3 separate regions of the Homo sapiens genome follow, and regions 1 and 3 are each linked to region 2. The links are contacts of gene promoters, found by promoter capture Hi-C in blood cells and fetal thymus (Javierre and others, 2016). All regions are on one chromosome and are shown on one strand. The core of a region is centred on a gene start or on the middle of the fragment in contact, and the rest is flanking DNA. Distances in the headings are between cores, read along the strand shown. Region 1 overlaps MRPS27 (mitochondrial ribosomal protein S27). Region 2 holds the start of TNPO1 (transportin 1). Region 3 overlaps MRPS27 (mitochondrial ribosomal protein S27).

What was found. Contacts are between HindIII fragments. The CHiCAGO score rates a contact against its expected background, and 5 or more counts as called.
Region 1: a fragment that was not itself captured here is called in contact with the fragment with the promoter of TNPO1 in region 2 in 1 of 17 cell types (M0 macrophages); the score reaches 6.1 in M0 macrophages.
Region 3: a contact is called between a fragment that was not itself captured here and the fragment with the promoter of TNPO1 in region 2, in 6 of 17 cell types (activated CD4 T cells, monocytes, naive CD4 T cells and 3 more). The highest score is 7.0, in activated CD4 T cells.

Annotation. Positions count from the first base shown.
Region 1 is chr5:72,280,909-72,285,100 of GRCh38, reverse strand. The region is part of intron 4 of MRPS27 (mitochondrial ribosomal protein S27); the gene reads left to right. LOC107986422 (a long non-coding RNA gene) reads left to right here. Exons shown (of 2, transcript XR_001742742.2): 2 at 1,443-4,192. Among named protein-coding and RNA genes, the nearest start is that of MRPS27, 37 kb to the left of the region's middle. The HindIII fragment of the contact is 1,413 bases long and covers 1,395-2,807 here.
Region 2 is chr5:72,813,857-72,818,302 of GRCh38, reverse strand. It overlaps TNPO1 (transportin 1), which reads right to left and starts at 1,642. Exons shown (of 25, transcript NM_002270.4): 1 at 1,551-1,642. The coding sequence starts at 1,565. It overlaps TNPO1-DT (TNPO1 divergent transcript), which reads left to right and starts at 1,755. Exons shown (of 9, transcript NR_186518.1): 1 at 1,755-2,150. RefSeq lists enhancers at 866-915, 1,996-2,075 and silencers at 1,376-1,595, 1,636-1,735. The HindIII fragment of the contact is 3,194 bases long and covers 662-3,855 here.
Region 3 is chr5:72,302,576-72,306,888 of GRCh38, reverse strand. All of the region lies in intron 2 of MRPS27 (mitochondrial ribosomal protein S27), which reads left to right. Among named protein-coding and RNA genes, the nearest start is that of MRPS27, 16 kb to the left of the region's middle. The HindIII fragment of the contact is 2,331 bases long and covers 1,758-4,088 here.

The DNA.
Region 1 (4,192 bases), core at 852-3,351, 530 kb after region 2:
AATCTGTCATTATCATACATTGCTAGTGGATATATAAATCGGTACAACTTGTATAGATAGAACTTTGGCAGCATCTGTCAAAATTATAAGTACAATACCCTCTGGCCCAATAATTCCACCTCTAGGAATTTAACCTCCTGATACACTCATATTCATGCCAAAAATGTCCATTGCAAAAAGTAAAAGATTACGTCCATCAATAGAAGCCTGTTTAATTATTCTACAGCTGTACAGTGGAATACTGTGCAGTGATTGAAAAGAATGAGGAAGCTTTATTTGTATTTCCTATTGAATAAATTGTGAAATGTATTAAGTGAAAAAAACAAGAGTAGGACTTAGTGTGTGATGTAGCCACTGTGGTTTATGTGTAATATGTATACATGTGCTTTGATGCTTATGTGTATATATGTATGTGTGTACATAAAATATCTCTGGAATGATACACACAAAAACTGGTAACATTGGTTTCTTTTAGGGAAGAAACCTGGATGACTTCTCATTGAATTGTCTCTTGTAACTTTTGAATTTTATATCATGGGTGTATATTACTTATTCAAAAAATACATATTTTTCATTTCTTCCCTTCCCTTCCCTCCCCCCTTCTCTTTTTCCATCTCTCTCTCTCACACACACACACAGAAGGAAATTAACCAAATTTTTTTTTTTTTTTTAATTTAAAGACAGGGTCTCACTCTGTTGCCCAGGCTGGCATGCAGTGGCAGGATCTTAGCTCACTGTACCCTCAACTTCCCAGGCTCAGGCAATTGTCCTACCTCAGCCTCCCAGGTAGCTAGGACTTTAGGCGTATGCCACCATGCCTGGCCTTTTTGGTGGTGTTTTTTTTTTTTTTTTTAGAGATGGGGTCTCACAATGTTGCCCAGGCTGGTCTTGAACTCCTGGACTCAAGCAATCCACCTGCCTCGGCCTCCCAAAGTGCTGGGATTATAGGCATGAGCCACCACACCTAGCCTGAAAAAATATTTTTTAAAAGATCCTCAAGATAGTCATCTGCAGATTCTTAAGAAGTATATATCATAATAAAAGTATTTCAGAAAGATTTATAACAGGGTAAATTTTTTATTAAAATTGGTAAATGTTATAAGGAAATTGTCTATGCATATAGAGAAAAAAGACCTGTCCTGTGGTAGTAGACAGTGGAAATAAAGAGAGAAATGTACATAGGAGGGAAAAAATTGGATCAGCAGGATTAATGGCAGGTTGAATGTAGAGACAGAAAACAAGGAGAGTCAAAAATGAACTGAAAATTGAACCTCAGTGGGAAAGTGGCTTGTACATGATAGAAGTATTGAATTGGAAGCAGATTTAGAAGGCAGCAAGAGGGTGAGTTTTTCTTTTGCCTTTTTTTTTTGTACGTACACATTTCTTTCTAAGCTTGCTGGATCATATCTTGCCTACTTGACCATACTTGGACTGTTTGACAGGAACTGGCCACAGACCTTTGGAGAAAGAACAATTGCCAAAACATACCCATTGGGTCTTCCTGGTGTATTGGCACTAGTTGGAAAATTTTAGACCAGATGACCTCTGAAGTCCTGCCAACTTCCGGAATCTGAAATTGCAACCTGGATAGACTAAGTGAGTCCCTTGGAGCCATGTGACAAGTCCAAGCTCCAGCTGTGGATGAGGCCTGACTTCAAGTTCAGAAGCTCATCAGCTAGCCCAGTGTATCTCTTTGTGTCAGTTTTTTTTCCTAAGCAGTTTCAGTAATATACCAAAAGATACAGACTCAATGAACATTTTGAAACCTCCTAACAGTGTGACATAGAATTAATTAAACCTAGAAAAAAATTAACATAAAAAGAAATTCAACAATGAAAATGTATTATCTTGTGGGGGAGGTACTAAAAAGACCCTGAAGGAGTCAGGATGGGAAGAAAGAGGTGACTGGGGTCTTAGGACCAGTTTAGTCCCCACTTTGATCTGTAGCTTTGAACTAGTTAGTGAACTCTCTGGACATCAGCTTTCTAGATGAGCAGATCATCTTGGATGCCTCCCAAGGCACTTCCCATAGCTAAAACATAATGTTTCTTAATGTCACTGATAAGATTTTATCACCAGATGCCTCAGACTTTGAAAGCATGTAGCTCTGGCTTTTTGTTTAGTTTCTCACGCAGAATTTTATTCACTTTAAAATTGAAGTTCCAGCCGCCTTAACTATGAATATCAAGAGAAAAACTAATAGATGTAAAAGTAAACAACAGAAAGGGTAGAAGATCTCTTATTCTCTTCTGGATTTAGGTGACAGACTTCATTTACTATCTTGTTTGTGAATATATTTAGTAAATTTTGTGGTATGAGAAGTTGGGTATCCACTCTTATTTATCCTCTAGGTAACTAATTTTTATACATATGTACTTGCCTTTTTCCTGCAAGGCCCACAAACCACATGTTTTTGATGCCTTGTATATACATGAGATTTAAAAGGAGAAGGCTAAAGTAAATCTGTTCTAATAGCTACAGAACCATTTGTAAATTAAACCTTAAACTCCTAAAATTTCACATAAGAATATGTATCCAAGTTCTTTTTTTTCTACAGTATAAACCCCTTTTATTGAAAAATATTTCTCCTGCCTATTTTTATAATTGTAAAGTCAAATTAAGGTACCAGGAATTATAGCTACAGGGCAATGAGAAAGGCATAACTAAAATATAGTTTTATATTTATTATATAAACCCTACTTCAGTAGGGTTTTAAGTGTAACGCAGTTTGATTTGAAAATAATTAAGAGATCGTTTCAGAAACTGGTATAATATTTAAGGGAGAGCTGAGTAGATAAACAGAAGCTTCAAGGAGAGATTTATGGGAACAGAAGTTTCAGTTGATTGCATCATGGTTTTTGAGGCCAAAGGCAAATAAATTCCTGAGTATTTCCAGATGCTGTGTGTCTAGGCAAGAGGACATCTGAGGAGCTAGAAGTATTTGATGTGAATTCTGTTTAGTGGTCTAGGCTGCTTTCATTTTCATGATAGATTTCCAGGTATGTTTGTTTTGAACAGGCAGATTTTACATTTTGAGGTCTATTCTGTTTTTTTAATAGCAATGCTGATTTTAAGACAAATAGTATCACCATTTTATACCTAGTAATAGGCAAAGCTGGGACTTAAAACTAGGTCTTCCAACACCAGATCATTACAGCACATGAACAGTGTATTCATTATGCACTGGCTGTTACATAGTTCAGTGATGGACACTACCAAGAGGTGAAACTCAATCATTAGTCTTCATTGGTAAAAATCTTGGCAGAGTTTTGATAAGTCAAACACTGAAATTATGTGTTCAAGTGAGAACTTTGTGCATCTCATACGTATAGATTAGTATAGTCCTCCATTTGCTGAATAATAGCAGGTAATAACAGACTTACACACTTACACAGTGCTTTCAGACTCCAGTTGGAATGGACTACTGTTCTCTGAATGTGCCTTCTACTTTCATATCTTGCCTATGCTCTTCCCTCCCCACTGTCTCTTTCTAACAGAATACAGCCTGTGTTTTAAGGCCTGTCCCAAATTCTGCTACACTCATAAACTTACCCTGATTTTCACGGTTGAATGTGATCTCTCTGACCCATCTATAAAATTTTGTTTTACCTATTCAGGGGTGCTTACTTATTTTGTTTTGTCTTCTGTCAAAAATATTTCTTTCTTTCTCTTTACCTGAGACACAGTATAGTATAGTAGACAAGAGTATGGACTTGAGCCAGAGTGCCTGGATTTGAATGTCGAATGTGCCATCCATTTCCTCCCTCATAAAATGAGTGTTAAAATAGTGCCTGTGCTTTAGGGTATTTATGAGACTCCAAGAAATTGATAACGTTATAATGCCCTTAGAACAGTCTTGGGACAAAGAAGGTCAGTGCTCAATAAAATTTAGCTTTAATGTTGACTATACTAGATTGTAACATCGGGAGAAGCAAGGAGTATTTATTTCCCATACTTCTCTCTTATGGGAAAATGTATTTGATTTCTGGTTTAGGTTTCCCTAACCATCCGCACCACCCCTGCCCCAAGGGCATCAAGGTGTAAGGGCCATCAAGGCTCAGGAATGTGGAGAAGTAGATGCTTAGGAACACTAGTAGTTCAACACACATTTAGAAAGGATATCACATTTTGGGGGAAGCTTCCTGACCCTAAAAGACAGCAAATCAAATCTGTCATACGTGTACCCGTATTG
Region 2 (4,446 bases), core at 393-2,892:
CTCACATTATATAATGGTAATAAAGCCACTGAGAGTTGAGGTAGAAGTGCAAACAAGATTTTTATAGATATTTCAGTGGGAGGAATTTAATAATTCCTGACTAGGAGAAAGATGCAGCCACATCAAGGGTGGCGGCCCCTTTTAGGAAAAAGAAAACAGAACACTAGTACTTCATTAGGCTCACGTTAAATTGCATGAAGTAAAAATCGTACTGCCAAGCTAGTATAAATTTATGCACTGCATAGCTAGAGACTAAAAAAGATATCTGCACCTACAAACTATTGTTTCCCTTTTGTGGTTGCTAATTTTCATCCTGGCACAGCCTTCTCTAGGAACAACTACGGTGCCAGGTAAGGTGAAAGTGGAAAACAGATCCTTTCCCAAAAAACGGAACTTTCCCCTTTTCCACTAAACATAGCTTCTTCACCACTCTAACATGAAAGCTTTGATATAACAGGGAAACTTAAAAAGCTGCAGGAACTTTTGTTATTCTAAAAGTGAGTAGTACGTCAGGACAGCCATTTTACAACCTTCATTTCCAAACACCTATTACACCATACATCTTGCAATTTTAAAAGTATCTTTTCTTTAGGGTAAAAAAAGTACCACTTACACATTCATCATTTAAGTCATTACTGTTTCAAAGGACAGTTATTAAGCTTCTTAATACAGCTGTCAAAATCAATTTGTAGATAGCCTCCAATTTCAAATTTCTACATTTACATCTACTGATAGACCATCCTGATTAGCGATTAAGATAACAGACTTAAACTCTAAGCAATCCTTGCAAAATCCAGTTGATTTTTAAAATCAGTAAGCAACACGCGATCATTTTTAAAGAAAGTCATTCCGAAAATAGCTTGATTGTGGTGGCCAATCTGCTCCTCAGCAGCTGTTCCCTGTTGCTTGTACGCATGGGAGTGGAGGTAGAAGGGCAAAACCCACAAGCCCACGCAAAACTCGTACAGTCACAAACATTATGTAAACATGTCGTGAGGCCAAGAGGCCCCAAGGAGAAAGAACCGCCGGGAGGAAGAGAACGGCAAGCTGCATGTAAGGACGATGGGCGCTGTGTGCGGACGCAGGAGACCCGGGCAGAGGGGCCCAGGGCGGGACAAAGACTGGCCCATCTCGGGCAGCGCCGGCCAGCGCCCAGAACCAGTGAAAGGCAGCCGTCCCGGGGCAGCCGACTGCAGCACTCAAGGGCCCTCAAACGCCACAGCTTAACAGGCGAGGCAAACGCTCCCCTGAATGTAAGACCCTTCCCTTCCCGCCCCTTGTAACGGGCTCCTGCCGCCCCTAACGGGATCCTCGGACGCTTGAGGAGCCGCCGTCGCCTGCTCCCTACCCGGGTCCCGCAGGGCGCCTGGGCGGGCAGCTGTTGGGGTTAGAACCGCGCCGCCGCTGCCTCTCGGCTTCAAACGGCCGGGCAGGCGCCGAGAGAGCGGGCGAGCCCGGCGTCTCTCCCGTAGGCGCGTCAGGCAGCTCGGCGCTCCCAGCCTCCGTTCCCGCCCCTGCAGTTCGGGGCCGCGCACCCTCACGCCACCTACCCGGTCCCACACCATCCCAGACGCCTCGGGCGCTCGGGCCTTCGGCCGAAGCGGCACTGCCTCCTGTCCGGGGCCTGAAATGGCTGCGGAACAAAGAGAATCTGGGCTTCACCGAGCGCCGGTCCGATTGGCCGGGGGGCGGAGCCCGCGGCGGGAACATTCGGCGGCGGTCGCCTTGGCAACGGCGGCGGGGCTAGGAAAATTGCTGCCTGGGTCGGCTGGGCCTGTGGGCCTGCGTCCGACAGCGCGCGGCCGTGCTTTCTAAGCGGGCTCGGCAGCACCAGACTTCACCGGCCCGGCGCGGGGCTCACAAGTGCTCGCACTCCCTGCGGCCGGCGCGCTGACCGGAGCCTCTGGGTCTCGCACGCAGCAGCTGCAGACGCTGCCCGGCGCGGTGGGGCTGTGAGCAAAACGGCCCGCCGGTGTGGTTGCCCAGACTGTGCTGGGCCCTCCTAGGTGGATGGCCCTGCCCCAGCCTAACTTCTGTACCCCAGCATAACCTCCAAAGTAACAGCCGTGCCCTGGGAGCCTGTTCAACACTGAACATATCCCACAATAACACTGTTCCAGCGTCGCTGGTAAAAAGCAGAAATGGCTTCGGTAGGTAGACGCCGGTGGATGGCTGCCCGCTTAGAACAAGATAGGCTTTTGACGTATGTTGTATCTGGCGTATAAACTACTATGTAATTAGAATTCAGTGATTTATAAAATGTTTACGCCTCCAGGTGTTCAATCCTATAAAACTGTAGTTTCTTGCTCTTAGAAATAACAAGCCTTTCTCTCCCTAACCTGCCATCATGAGAAATTAAAATGTCCTGTATTTTCTGTACGGCAAATGATTCAAAATGGGAGTGGTGGACGTTTTTATACCCAACTGCAACAAGGGTAATGAGATAAATATCAGTTTCCTTCCCTCAGATTATTCTTATATGTAAAATTTACTGTATAAAAATACTTAAAATTTGCATAGCTAGCTGATTTTTATTTTCTAAGGTGATGATGCCCGTGATAATATTCCTCACATGATCAGTGTGAGTAGAAATACCAGCAGTTCCGACTATCTTACTGGAAGTGCTGTATATATTTTGAAAATGTGTGACAGTTGTTGCCTTCCTGTCATAGTTTAGGTAAAATTACAGTACATAATACTAGAAAATGTCTAAATTTTTACTAAGGTAATTTATTTGTTCTTCTAAACGTGTTAACAATTTTCATTTGAATTACAGTCATTTTGCAGGAACAACTAGTTTATTTAACTTAAAATTTGAGACTAAAAGTACCATTTTTTAATCATTGGGAAATTGAACTTAGCAAGGGAAAATATAGATAACTAAAATATTCATGATTTCAACATGTTATAATATTAATTTGATAGTAATTGGATACAGTAGTGTATATCAAAAAGAGCCCCCCCCCCCAAATAGGAGTAGATTACCAAGAAAAAAATGTAATATAAACTTTTCTGAATGGTAGTTTATCTGCAGGAAAATATACCCAGAAAAAGTATATTTATCCAAATAACAAATGGCTTATTTCTGCATTTGAAAAGTTACATCGTGGACTAGGATCTATACAAATCAGAAGATGTGTAGTATTTGCATTCTACTTTGCTAAAGGAAAAAACACAAATATTTCTAAAATCCAAAAGATTAGCAAATAATGACAGATGTAAATACTACTGACTAAGCAATTAGTAGGAGTTCACTTGATTAATAGTTTGGAAATAGCTGAAATGAATTGAAGAAAAAGTAACATATTATTTAGCATAAGAGGATTTATTGGCCAAAACATTTTGAAAGAAAAAAATGTTGATTATCAGATGTTGTAAAATTGAGATTAAGCAAATTAAATATGTATTCTTTTGTAAAAATTAAAGTGAATGAAAATACTAATATAAAATAGTTCTGTTGAATAGAGATTCTTACACATGTAGCCTTTTTGTCTCTTCTAGGTCAAATTAAAAAAACATGTTTTAAACAGTAAATCTTATTAACAAGGATTTATTAACATGGCTTATTTTATTTTTCTTTGACAGTTTGCACATATAATAGCAGCTATCCAGTAGTATTTTCTCTTTATACCTAAATATGCTCATGTGGTAAAACTTTGAAGAATTATTAATAATTTTTAAATGACAAAAATGAAGTTAAAATTTATAAACTTTGTTTTTACCTTTAAAACATAGATATATTTAAAATTTCTGTATTAATTTTATTTTCTTAGGTGAAAAATTTACCAAGATAAAAATAAAAACATGTTAGAAGTTACAAAATAGCATCTGAGGGAGAAAACATACCTATAAGCTTTCACCTAGGAATGACAAGATGCTTATTTTGTCAGGTGTAGCATTGTTAAAACAAGTGTGGAGCTTGCAGGCAGAGGACCTATATGCAGATGCTGGCTTTACCATTTATGAATGCTTTTGGCTCAGTCTTTCTGAGCTTCACTTTCTTTTGTCTGAAACAAGATTAAGTAAGATAAGTTACATAAAGAACTCATTAGCAGAGTGCAGGGCAGGTTGTTAGAGGGCAATGAATGAAAGTATTACTAGACATTAATATAAATCAAAGATGTTTGAGAAGGAGGAATATTATTGAAAAAGTAAGTCTGGAAATTCAAAAATTGTTAAATAAATGTCTTTAATAGGCAATTGTTGGTGAGTATATGGAAACCTAGTAAGATAAGTAATTTTTTATATACAGGCAAGCTTCTAAAATAGAATAAGCCTGGGCGCAGTGGCTCACGCCTGTAATCCCAGCACTTTGGGAGGCCGAGATGGGCGGATTACCTGAGGTCAGGAGTTTGAGGCCAGCCTGGCCAACATGGTGAAACCTCGTCTCTACTAAAAATACAAAAATTAGCTGGGCATGGTGGCGGGCACCTGTAATTCTAGCTA
Region 3 (4,313 bases), core at 1,674-4,173, 510 kb after region 2:
AGCAATTATCAATTCCCTACCAGTGTTGTTTCATCAACTCCCCACCTGTTCACCAGATTACTTTTTAACAAACTTAATTATCGGGGTTTTTTTATATGTACTTTGATATGTACCTCTAAAAGATAAGGATTTTTAAAAACGTAATTAATCATACTATTCTAAAAAACTAGTACTTCTGTAATATTAAATATTCCATTAATGTTCACATTTTCCCAAATGTCTTATAAATTTCTTTTTAATTTAGTTTGTTGAAATGTGATCTAGATAAGGTCCATACCTTGCAATGTGTTGAGTTGTCTCAACTATCTTAGTTTGTAAGTTTTTTGCAATTTATTTATTGAACAAAACAGGTCTTTTTTGGAGTTTCCCACATTCTAGATTTGCTGATTTCATCCTTATTGTGGTGTTTAGCGTGCTCCTCTGCCTTCCATATGTCTTGTGAAACTGGTAGTTGGAGAAAGGGGCTTGATCAGATTCAGGACTTTTTATTTTGTCTTTTGGTATAAATACTTCATAGTAAGTGTTTACTTGTGTCAGTAAGCACACAGCATTTGATTGCCCCTCTGCGAAGTTAAAGGCCATTCATGATCTTTACTTAGATTTGTTATTTCATTTGAAGCTGCATACTATTGCTGTTTAAATTTTATCATTTCTTTTCATTTATTATCTAGGAAATTTTTATGACAGAACTTCCATTCATCAACAGTTTACTTACCCTGAAATAGTTTGTATATGAGTTAGCTTTCAAAATAACTTGCAAAAATGATGAATGAGGACTTCTTAAAATGTCATTAAGAACTCATAGATTTAAATAATTGAGACATTTTAATCCATTGCTGTTGATACTTTTATTGATAGGGCCATAGTTCAACTGTGCTCTGTAGAGCCCTGGGCTTTCCTACTTCAATCAGATTTCAACTTTTGATTGTTTCTGTACTGGGCTTCCCTTTGGCTAAAATAAACACTGAGTTAAAGCATTGTCTCTGGAATTCCTCCACTAACTTGCTGATTTGTTGGGGAGGTACAGGGTAAAAGTTATCAACATTTACTAGTTAACAGAATAGGATCCACTGTGAACAGGACTCAGGAGAAAACCACTGGGGAACTGGGTAGGGTGTTGGTAGGAGGGCAGGCCTCATGGGGAAGCTCCTTGAGTTCCATGAGAGGAAGTTTTCTTGAGTCTTTCTGACAAGGAGCGAGCACTCAGGTGACTTGAGCTGAATTCAGGATTCATGAGCCCTACTGGATTAAATATTTTATTTGTGATTTTTCACATCACAAAGTATAGGACACATTTTGGTTTGGGTTACTGTTTTGCTTGTTTGTGTTGGTTTCTCTTGGTTTGTTGGTTTGTTTTCTGTTGGTTTGTTTTTGGAGAACCTCCTTTTTGAATCCAAAGAGTATTTCCTTGACACATTTGCATTCAGGTCTGTCTCTTACAGACACTTCTTCCATTTTAGCTGAGATTTAGTTTTGCTGTGTCATTTCAGCTGTAGAGGCCTTTGGCTTTTTGCATGAATATTTCAGATCCTGCTCTTGAGGCCTGATGGAGATTTTCTGAAGTCTGCTTTCTTAACTTTTGTCAGTTCTGTATTTGCATCTCTGTGGCATCTATTCATTTTCCAGTTTCCATATTTGCCAAGTTCTAGAGATGGGTCTGACTTGTGCACATCACCGTTCTTTAGTCTCATTAATATATATGTACACAAAGCTTGATTTCATGTTTTTCCTTTATTGGATTTATTTATGTTAAAGCTTCTGGTGACAGACAAATAGAAGGAAGTCTAAAAATCTATGTCCAAATTGGTTGCTAGGCTAGTTTTCCATACTTCCTTCTGTATATTCAATGCATGATATATGTCATGTGTCCTCGTTTTTCTTTTAAAATGTGGGAAACAAAAACAGTTTCAGCCTGTATTTTTCAAGATCAGTTCTTCTAGGAAGGACAATAATAATCTGTACCTGTTTCTTTATTATATAAATTAGGTAAGGTATGCAGATGACCATAAGCCCAGAAAGAGTTTAGTGTTGCCTGAAAGGTTAACAGTAATGTGCAGTTATGTAGAAAAGAAAAACTGAAACCATTTCTCACCTGAAGCTAGAAGGATTCAATAAAGGATTCATATTTTTCTTCAGTGACCTTCATTATCACAACTTTGCCCCAGAGACCACACTCTTTTTTAAGAGGCTTGTTTTTCAACACATCTGTACTACAGATTTTGTGGTTATGTACTGTGAAGCTGTGTTACTTTGGTGTGCACCAGGTTAAAATTATCTTGGCAAAATGAATTTTTGGTCATTATGTAGTGACCCACATAATCTATAAAACTGCTTTTTGCCTGTAATCTATTGTGTCTGATATTAATACAACTGTACCAGCTTTATTTTGGCTTCCTAGTGTGTTTTTAATAATTTTCAACTCTTCTGTGTTTATATGATTTATATAGCTAGCTTTTATATTTTTAACCAATCTGACAATCATTATCTTTTAACTAGAAAATTTCGTCTATTTACATTATCATTTCATGATTACCAATATAATTGGATTTATTTCTGTCACATTTTGTGATTGGTTTCATCTTTCTTTTTTTTCTTTATTTTTTATTTTTGGATTGATTTTTACTTTTGGATTGTTTTTGTTTTTTACGTTTTTTTCCCCTCCACTGGTCTGGAGATTATATCCTCTACTTTTTTAGAGATTGTTGCCCTTTAACTTCTAAAATGCATATCTAGCTTAAATTGTAATGCTCATCACACTCTACTATCCTTTAGGACACCTTAGGTCCACACACACACATCTAACCATATGCTCTTGTCTAATAATAAAGTTTTATCCTTTAAAACACATATAACATTATTTTAAACAGTCAGTTCCCCCCCAATTTAACCAATTTTATTGAGTTCTAAAAATTTCCTTTAGTATTTGTTGCTAATACATTTTCTGTTTTTGTTTGTCCAAAAATGTCTTCATTTCGCCCTTATCTTTTTTTTTTTTTTTTTTTTTTTGAGATGAGGTCTTGCTGTGTTGCCCACACTGGCCTCCAACTCCTGGGCTTAAGTGATCCTCCCACCTCAGCCTCCTGAGTAGCTGGGTCTACAAGCACATGCCAGCATACCCATATTTTGCCCTTATTTTTTAAAGATAATCTTGCTAGATATGCAATTTTAGGTTGATAGTTTATACTTGCAACATTTTGAACATTTTATTCTATTTTCTGGATTTTATCATTCCTATTGAGAAAACACCTGTTAGTATAGTTGTTTCTTTCTTTGTAATTTCTCTTTTCTTTCTGGCCACTTTTGAGATCCTCTCATTCATCGTTTTTGAAATAATAATTTTACTTTTTTGACTTGAGATTGTATACATATCCTGAATCTAGAAACCTATATTTTTTATCAATTCTAAAAAATTCTCATCATTGTCTCATCATACATTCTTATTCATATTTCTATATCTTTGCTCTTTTACAGTTCTCATTTTTATCTTTGCAGCATTCTGTGTAATTATCTGCCTTTCAGTTCACTCTCACTTCACCTGTGTCTAACCTGCTTTTTAACTTATTCATTGTTTACTTTTTACAGCTTTGATGAGGTATTCTTCACATAAAATAAACTATGTATATTTAAATGTACAATTTGATCAGTTTTGACCAATGTACAGGTGTATATGTCCATAAAGTCATCTCCATGATCAAGATAATGAGCATATGTGTCACCTGCCAAAGTTTTCTCCTATTCTTTAACCCTTTTCTCCTTCCGCTTCTGGCCCTATACCCCAAATTCCCAGGCAACCATGGATATGCTTTTTTGTTTCTATAGAATAGTTCACAATTTTTAGAATTTTATATAGTGAAGTCAACTCTTCAAACAAAATTCTCAGCTTGGTATATTTTGGATCACAAAAGAAGAGTGGATTAAATCCCCAAAGAGGCATGAGGGCTGACTTGTAGTTTATAATCTTCAGGGGACAAGTGTCCCGGTTGTTTACTTTTTAGGGTGCATTATTGTAGTGATAAGTTTTACCTTTTCACTTCAGGTGTAGTTCCCTTAGGTGGTCCTGGCTTTACCTGAGGATCTCTGAACAAGCTTCTCATCTTACAAGTATTGGTTTTATCCTCTGTCCCCATAAGTCACTGAAACTAAAGCTCTCCATCACTGTAGATCATCACATGCTCTCAAAAGGACTGCTCCCCTCAAAGGGACTGCTCCTCTAAACACTCCAAGTTCATGTTTCCATCTTGCCTTTGGCCTCTGACAGTTACATCTACCTTCTTGAAAGCTCAGTCATATATTTGGGGGAAAATTGATATTTT